Regions from separate parts of the Homo sapiens genome. Here regions 1 and 2 are each linked to region 3. Evidence: promoter capture Hi-C in 16 types of primary human blood cells and fetal thymus (Javierre and others, 2016). All regions are on one chromosome and are shown on one strand. The core of a region is centred on a gene start or on the middle of the fragment in contact, and the rest is flanking DNA. Distances in the headings are between cores, read along the strand shown. Region 1 overlaps ARMC8 (armadillo repeat containing 8). Region 2 overlaps MRAS (muscle RAS oncogene homolog). Region 3 holds the start of FAIM (Fas apoptotic inhibitory molecule).

Region 1 (2,845 bases), core at 310-2,809, 390 kb before region 3:
GTGTGATCATTGAAACAAGGAGTTAATGTTCTGTGGGCTGTTTTTTCTGTTGTTGTTGTTGTTCGTTTAACTCACTCCCTACTCTTAGAGCTGAGCGTGAGGGTGGCCTGTATTCCTTTGTATCCAAAGTATTGGTAGGTACCCTTTCTAGAAGAACTCAATTCTGTACTGGAAGTCTTTCGCCAGTACTCAGGATATCTCTCACTTTCTACAATACGCCGTTTTACAGCCCCCACATTCACTCTGCACCTATCTCTATCCCTTCATTAGTACTTTAGGTGAAAAAAGGTTAGTGCTTTTACTTTGTCAAATCTAAGATATTGCATAATGAAGTAGAATGATCTTTGATTTTTCTTCAGTGCTGTCTCAACATACTTTATTTTTTCTTCCCCTTAATTCAGAGACATGAAAAATGCTGTAATTGGAAACAACAAGCAGAAAGCCAATCTCATTGTTTTAGGAGCTGTTCCAAGGTATGTTTGCTGTCTCACCCCTTTCTTGCCATTCATACTAGTTTCTAATGTATTTCTTACTCTCAATTATAGAACCCATTTTTCCTGTATTGTCTGTCTAATTCTTAAAATAAATCCTATTTTTAAAAATAAATGTAAGTATTTAAACTATCTTTAAGGAAAAAAATTATAAAGTAACAGAGAATGTAGTAAGAAGTGAATGTGTTAATACATTTTGGAAACTCAGGAAGACCTTTGACCTGATGACAAAAGGGTTCGTAAAGTACATATGCAATGTACAACAGCCTGATACTTTCTTCTCCATTTCCTTAGAGCCTTGGCAGTTTTTTGTGTGAGTGGGTAATTTATTAGGAGCCTTAAGACCTTTTTGAATTTAAAGGAAAAAAACCCTGCTTGATTTTTAATCCAGTTTCATTTTTTAACTTCTGATTTTTACAACTTGCTGTTTTTTAAGTTAACGTAAGAAGTTTAGGAAGTTTAATTTCTTCTTTTGATGACCTAATAAGCTTCCTTTAGGCAGGCAATGACAGTTACATAACTTCCTCTTTACTTTTGCTCCTCAGAGCTAAGTTTTCTGTGCAATTGCTATTAGCTTTTCATTCAGAATTATTTATTATTTTGTTTTTTTCTCCTTATTTTCTGGTTTTGATACAGAATTAATGGTTTAAGTGTTTTAACTCACCAACCTCAAACATATACTTTAGTAACTATAAAGCTGTCAGCAGCCTTTCTTAGGGGATTTATGTTTGGTATATATAAATAGTGCTTTATGGAGCATGAGGGTCCTGTCTTAGAACATAAGGTAGATGGTTATAAGTGGAGGAAGGTTAGGGTTTGGGGAGTATTTGTTTGGCAAGCTGGGCTGGAGTGGAAATGAGAGGATCTCTTCCTTTTCCAAATGAGAGAGCTGGAGAAAGAAGAAACTACCTTTGCTTGAGGAGCTGCACAAGGGCTCTGAATATTCCCTATAGGCTCGATATCTACAAACTGCACCACTGCTCTGGATTCAGAGCAGTAGCATTTCTAGTTTGAGTTTAAGATCTGGCAGCACATGGCATTTGAGAGTCTTCATATTTTGGAGACCCAGCAGGAAGTGGTAGATGACATGGACTCTGATGACGCTGTTTCTACAGAGACTATCTGTGGACAACTTTCAGATTTACACTTTTTATAAACTCTAAGAATATGATAGTTCTTTTTTTCAAAACCTCTTCTAGATTTTTTTTCCAGATGTTTCTTTAATTAGCAGATGAGATAAACAAATGACCATTGGATTCATATAAACTCAGCCAACCATATTTTTAGTATGTGGACTGCACAGCCTTTTTTGGTCACATTGAGTCTTGTTTAAATTTTTTAGTCTCTTCGTTTATTAAGTTCCTTCTTTTTAGATTGTTGTACTTGCTTCAGCAAGAAACCTCAAGCACAGAGCTGAAAACTGAATGTGCAGTGGTGTTGGGAAGTCTTGCTATGGGTACTGAAAACAATGTCAAGTCTCTACTGGACTGCCATATTATCCCTGCCTTATTGCAAGGTATGTAGGGAAGCCATTTTTGCTCAATTAAGGTTAAGAATCAGTTTGCAGTGCTTTAAATACTGGTTGAAAGGATTAGTCCTAAATCTCATTTCTGTTAATAGGACTACTGTCCCCAGACCTGAAGTTTATTGAAGCTTGCCTCCGATGCCTGCGTACCATCTTCACCAGTCCTGTCACTCCAGAGGAGCTACTGTATACAGTGAGTTTTAGATGTATTTGAGACATTAGTTACATTTCACCAACAGCCTACTCCTAATTTGCTTAGCATCTTCAGACTCATCATAACTGTGTTATGTAAAAAAGTCTCAGTTGGTCATGGTGGCTCACACCAGTAATCCCAGTGCTTTGGGAGGCTGAGGTGGGAGGATTGCTTGAGGCCAGGAGTTCAAGATCAACCAGAGTGACATAACAAGACTCCATCTCTTTTTTTTTTTTTTTTTTTGAGGTGGAGTCTTGCTCTGTCACCCAGGCTAGAGTGCAGTGGCGCGATCTCGGCTCACTGCAACCTTCACCCTGCCAGGTTTAAGCATTTCTCTGCCTCAGCGTCTGGAGTAGCTTGGATTACAGGCGCGTGCCACCACACCCGGCTAATTTTTTGTATTTTTAGGAGAGATAGGGTTTCACCATCTTGGCCAGGCTGGTCTTGAACTCCTGACCTTGTGATCCACCCGCCTCGGCCTCCCAAAGTGCTGGGATTACAGGTGTGAGCCACTGCGCCCGACAACAAGACTCCATCTCTACAAGAAAAAAATAAAAATAAATTAGCCTGGTGCAATGGCTCATGCCTATAGTCCTAGCTCATGAGACTGCAGTGGAAGGATTGCTTGAGCCTAGG
Region 2 (2,700 bases), core at 89-2,588, 260 kb before region 3:
CAGCGTATACACTGGACACCCAGTTAGACTCTGGCTAGAGCTGAGGTCTGTTCTGGCCTGGGGCAAAGTGGAGTCTGGAGAGGTGGACAGAGTCCATCAAGGCCACTGGGGCCTTGATCATAGAGCTCTGCCATTGCCCCTACTCCCCAATGGCCCCTGATGGTGTGGAACCTCCCTGGCCTTGCTCCTCTAGGACTCACTCTGTCCTGGACCTGACCAGAGAGGGTGGCTGACAAGGCTCGGAATCGTGGCCTCCAGAGGTTTGTCTGGCAGCAGAAGTAAGATGGAGATATGACTTTAAGAGCTCTGAAACTCCACTGTAATAACAGCAACCAACAGGGCTTCCAAAGACCAGGCACTTGAAGTGGATTTGCTCATCATTTGACAAGACACCTCTTGACAAGACACCTCCAGAAGGATTTTGTTTATTGTAAAGGATGGAGGAACTGGGGTGAAAAAGAGCCAACAGCTTGCCCAAGATCATATCTGAAGTCCATGCTTTTGGCCACGTGGCTGTCCTGGGCTTCGGAAGGCTCTGGTGCAGCCTGTGTTAGAGTTTTGTAATATATTGTTTTATAATTATTCACTATAGACATTCACTGGTGGGTTGAAGTGTGAGGCAGTGAGCTGTGGGTATTAATAACTGACTCGTGTCAGAAGCTTAGCAGTGAACAAAGCACTTTCTCGGATACGGTTCTTAGAGCTTCTCCTGCTTCTTTTCCCGGGGAAGAAACTTGAGCTGCTAACATTTTGTAAACCTCCTAATTTCCTGTAAATCACATGTCCCTGCTGAGTGGGGCTGAAAATGTTTCGGGCAATGGTTTTCACCCTTAGGTCTGTTCACACTGCCCAGCAGCCAGTTAGCTTCTCTCTGTAGTTTATGGTGTAGTTTGTCCTTTTTCTGCCGGGGTGGGAGGCATGGGGCTTTCATGCTCTGGGGTTTTTGAGGTCTGCCAGCCTCTGGGGAGGGAGGTGTTGGGCAAGCCTCGTGCTCTGGTGGAAACTGACCCCCTAGATGTGACCTCGGCATTTCCTAAAGCTGGGGGCGGGACTGGGGTAGGCGGTAGTCAAGGCCCTTTGGTGAAGCAAGCGATTGTCTCCAGCGTTGTCAGCTTCGCTCCTCCATAAGACAGTTGCTAATTTCCACCTCTGTTTTCACCTACATAAGACACTTTATGACAGGTTTAACTTTTATGTTATTATTAGCTCTAGCCACTGGTATTTCATACTCAGTTCGTCTGAGCTACTTATAAAGTGACAAGTCCAGCCAGGGCAACATGGTGAAACTCCGTCTCTACAAAAATTAGCTGGGCCTGGTGGCATGCACCTGTAGTCTTAGCTACTTGGGAGGCTGAGGTGGGAGGATTGCTTAAGCCCAGAAGGCAGAGGTTGGAGTGAGCCATGATCACGCCACTGCACTCCAGCTTGGGTGACAGAGCAAGACCCTGTCTCAAAAAAAAAAAAAAAAAAAAAAGTGACAAGTCAGTTACCCTTGGGGTTGGTTTGGTTCCTAAGCTCTAGTGATCACCTGGAACCAGGAATGACTATTGGCCTCTGATAAATTAGGCTCCTGGGATGACTGGTCCTAACCTCAGTCAGAATCACATGTTGACCAGCCTCCTGGATCTAGTGAGTTCTCAGGGAAATGTGGCTTCCATAATATATTTCACATCAGATTTAACCATTGTAATCTGTTCTGCCAATGAAATGCCCCCAAACAGAGTGTGTCTCCCTGAAAGCAATTGAAAAACATACCTGCTCATGAGCATTGTGTAGTTTGTACAAGCATACTCATGTGAACTGAATGGGAATGCATTCTTGTGCAATGCTGGAATGTTCTTAAGTGTCCAGAGGATGTGCATTGAGTTCCAGAGGCTCTGTACCTGCCAGGCCCTGGGCAGGCATAGAAGGTACAGTCACCTTTATCTGGAGACAGGTAAAAAAGGAGCTGGAGGAGTTCCCTGAGACCTGGGACACCTGGCAGGTACCCATTGTCTAGGGACTCAGCAGAGAATTCAAGCTTTAAGAGGAATTTTCTTGCTGGACTCTGAGTCCCTGTCAGCCCTCCTAAGTCTTAGATCATGCCTCTGAGCCCTGTAGTACTGAATCAATGGGGATGCTTTGGCTGCAAGTAACAAAACCCAAATAACAGTAAGTAAGATTAAGCAGAGCTCAGATCTCCCAAAGATGCTCTCTGCTCTTGGAAGGTCTCTGTACACAGGAATGGGATATCAGTGCCACTTCCAGCAAGTTCCTGCATGGGACAGGTAGCCATAAAGGCTGAGTGTCTGGAGTTCAGAGTAATAGGTTTTGTCTTCTTGAGTCACAGCCTCTTTAATATGTTGATGAGAAGCCCAGGGAACGTTGATGTACAAAGTTGGACATATAATTCAGGGGATTCATGGATCTCTGAAAACCAGCCCTGGATCCCAGTTTAGCCATCTCTGATCTAAAGGCACGTGACTTCTCTAATGTTCATGGCAGACCTATTCTGTAAGCCCATTGTGCAGCCAAGTCAGCATGCCATTCCAGTGCAGTGTGAGAGGGCAGAGATGGGGGCCAAGAGTACAAATAGAGTGGGACAGTTGTCATTGCCCAGCCTGTGAGTTGAAGTCTGTGCAGTCAGCCAGTGGGTCTGACAAAGAGGGCAGTGCTGGCACTGCCTCATGCTTCCGCAGAGGTGATGAGGTTCAGGCTGAG
Region 3 (2,791 bases), core at 242-2,741:
AGAAGAATCCCTGGTGCTGCAATTTTTGTGTTTTTTTTGTTTTTGTTTTTGAGACGAAGTATCACTCTGTGGCTCAGGCTGCAGTACAGTGAGGCGATCTCAGTTCGCTGCAACTGCCACCTCCCAAGGTCAAGTGATTCTCCTGCCTCAGCCTCCTGAGTAGCTGGGATTACAGACGCATGCCACCACGCCCGGCTAATTTTTGTATTTTTAGTAGAGCTAGGGTTTCACCACGTTGGCCAGGCTGGTCTCAAACTTCTGACCTCAGGCAATCCGCACCTGGCCTCCCAGAGTGCTGGGATTACAGGTGTAAGCCACTGTGCCCGGCTGTTTTTTTTTTTTTTTTTTTTTGAGACAGAGTCTTGCTCTTCGCCCAGGCTGGAGTGCAGTGGCTCAATCTCAGCTCACTCCAACCTCCACCTCCCAGGTTGAAGCGATTCTCCTGCCTCAGCCTCCCAAGTAGTTGGGACTACAGGCATGCACCACCACGCCCCTCTAAGTTTTATATTTTCAGTAGTGACGGGGTTTTGCCATGCCTGCCTCAGCATCCCAAAGTGCTGGGATTACAGGCGTGAGCCACTGAGCCCGGCTGTTTCTTTTTGTGTGTGTTTTTTTTAATGAAACAGGGTCTCGCTCTGTTGCCCAGGCTGGAGTGTAGTGGTGCAATCACAGCTCTCTGCAGCCTCTACCTCCCTTCAGGGCCCAAGCAATTCTCCCACCTCAGCGTCCCAAGTAGCTAGGATTACAGGCCTGAGCCGCTAATTATTTTCTTTTCTTCTTTCTCATTCTCTCTCTCTCTTTTTTTTTTTTTTTACCATGTTGCCCAGGCTGGTCTTGAACTCCTGGACTCAAGAGATCCGCCACTCTGCCTCCCAAAATGCCGTGATTACAGGTATGAGCCACCACACCCAGCAATGCTGCAAGTCTTATGGGCCAGGATAGTGTAATCTAAGAAATGATATATGAAGAACTCTCACAATAGGGAAGAGGTGAGGAGTGTCCAGGCAGAGAGAAGAGCATTTGCAGAGGCCCTGGGCGAGAAGAAACCTGCATCCTTTAAGGACCTAAATGAAGCCAAGCAGGCAGAGGCTAGATCACACATGGGGGCTTCATGCCCACCTTAAGTAGTTTGGGTCTTTAAAAAAGGAATGAGACTCATAAAGAGGTTTTAAGGAGCGAATGCTATTGCTGCCATGAACAGATATTCCTTCCCCATAGCTGCAGAGCAGGCACAGGGCTGTTTTTGCCCGCCAGTATGTCCCCACCGTCTAGCCCAGAGCGGGGCCAGCGGCCGGCTCCTACCCACACTTGCTGGCAGGAAGACTGGACGCACTGCGGGACATGGTGATGTCCTGGGTTGGGGCTGAGGAAGGCCTATGCGCGGAGGGTGCGGCCTTCGGCTAAGGCAGAGGACCAGGGTTGGGTCCGTGGCGGCGGGAGGGGTGGCCTCCTGCGCTGGTCGCCCCAGGGGACCTGAGAGGCGCGACAAACAGTCGGCGCGTTTGGTACTCGCGCCTGCAGAGCTTTCAACCTCCGCGCCGGCTGCGCCTGTTTCTCGGCCAGGGGAGCAAGGCCACGCGGCCTACGCAGCCGAGTCGGAACCAACCGGTTGTTTGGTGAAACCTACCCCAGAGCCTCCCGCGGCCCACAGAGCACAGGTGAGGCAGCAGACCGGGTGGGGTCGGTGTCGCGCCTGCGCCCGCCCGGACGCCTCGGGCCCGCCCGCTCCGCACCCTGGAAACCCCTGCACTCAGCCCCCCGGCGTCCCCACGCTCTCGGCCCTGCTGCGCCGGCGGCGGCCATCTCTGGGCGGCGGCGGCGGGCGGTGTTTGCGCGGTCGGTGAGACCCGCGCGGGTGAGACGCTGGGTGAGTTCCGGACGCTTCCAGCCGGCCCGCCGGTGATCCCAGACCTCGGGGCGGGACGCGGCTCCCGCTCACCGCCGGCAAAGGTGGAGGTGCGGCGGGGCGCGGGGCGCGGGGCCAGCCCGGGGCGGTGCGGGGGCGTCCCTGCCTAGCGAGGCCCTGCCCCGCGACCTGCCGCACCCTCCTCCGGCCTGTTCGCGACCTCTAAAGATAATACTTCTCACTGTCGAAAACGTGGAACAGAAAGCAAGGAAGCAAGCAAAGCAGCCGTGCCGCTGCTCCCCAGAGACAAGCTGCGTTAACATGAGGGTGTATATTCTTCCAGATGGTTTTTCCTTGTAACATGAGCGGGGCTTGTTTTTGCAGAACCTGCATCATAAAGTGCTGAAACTCTCTCTCTCTCTCTCTCTCTCTCTCTCTCTCTCTCTCTCTCGACTCTCTCTCTCTCGACTCTCTCTCTCTCTCTCTCGACTCTCTCTCTCTCTCTCTCTCTCTCTCGACTGTACATTCCTGTGTGTCAGGTTGACTACCTCATCCATCCCTGACTCTTGGCATGGCTTTGGACTGTGATTTACTAAATGTAGTTTCTCCCTGATGGTGAGCGTACAAGTGGTTTTCAGTTTTTAGTTATTGCAAAAAGTAATTCATTGAGCATCGTTGTATCTGGGTTTTTGAGCGTGATCATTTCTGTAGAAAGAATCGCACAAGATTCGTTCTAAAACAAGATAGAATCCACGGTCTATACCACAAGGCTTCTGGTATAGATTGTGAAATGGCCCTCAGAAAAGTTATTCTCCTTTTTGTACCTCCAGTAAGTAGCATTTGGGAATACTTGGCTCGAGGAGCTTCCTGAGTGATTTTACTGGAGACCCCCCTCACTTCATAAGGGGCCGGCCCGGAGATGAAGATGTCAACACTTGAGTGTGA

Evidence for each region. The method cuts DNA at HindIII sites, captures the fragments that hold promoters and counts their contacts. A CHiCAGO score of 5 or more calls a contact.
Region 1: a contact is called between a fragment that was not itself captured here and the fragment with the promoter of FAIM in region 3, in 8 of 17 cell types (M1 macrophages, M2 macrophages, naive CD8 T cells and 5 more). The highest score is 8.4, in M1 macrophages.
Region 2: a contact is called between a fragment that was not itself captured here and the fragment with the promoter of FAIM in region 3, in 3 of 17 cell types (M0 macrophages, M2 macrophages and M1 macrophages). The highest score is 8.2, in M0 macrophages.

Annotation. Positions count from the first base shown.
Region 1 is chr3:138,221,525-138,224,369 of GRCh38, forward strand. It overlaps ARMC8 (armadillo repeat containing 8), which reads left to right. Exons shown (of 22, transcript NM_001363941.2): 3 at 402-473; 4 at 1,865-2,007; 5 at 2,112-2,209. Among named protein-coding and RNA genes, the nearest start is that of ARMC8, 36 kb to the left of the region's middle. The HindIII fragment of the contact is 1,165 bases long and covers 978-2,142 here.
Region 2 is chr3:138,349,491-138,352,190 of GRCh38, forward strand. All of the region lies in intron 1 of MRAS (muscle RAS oncogene homolog), which reads left to right. Among named protein-coding and RNA genes, the nearest start is that of MRAS, 2.3 kb to the left of the region's middle. The HindIII fragment of the contact is 1,360 bases long and covers 659-2,018 here.
Region 3 is chr3:138,607,280-138,610,070 of GRCh38, forward strand. FAIM (Fas apoptotic inhibitory molecule) reads left to right here and starts at 1,492. Exons shown (of 6, transcript NM_001033031.2): 1 at 1,492-1,658. RefSeq lists a silencer at 1,580-2,039 and an enhancer at 2,140-2,229. The HindIII fragment of the contact is 4,797 bases long and covers 1-2,791 here.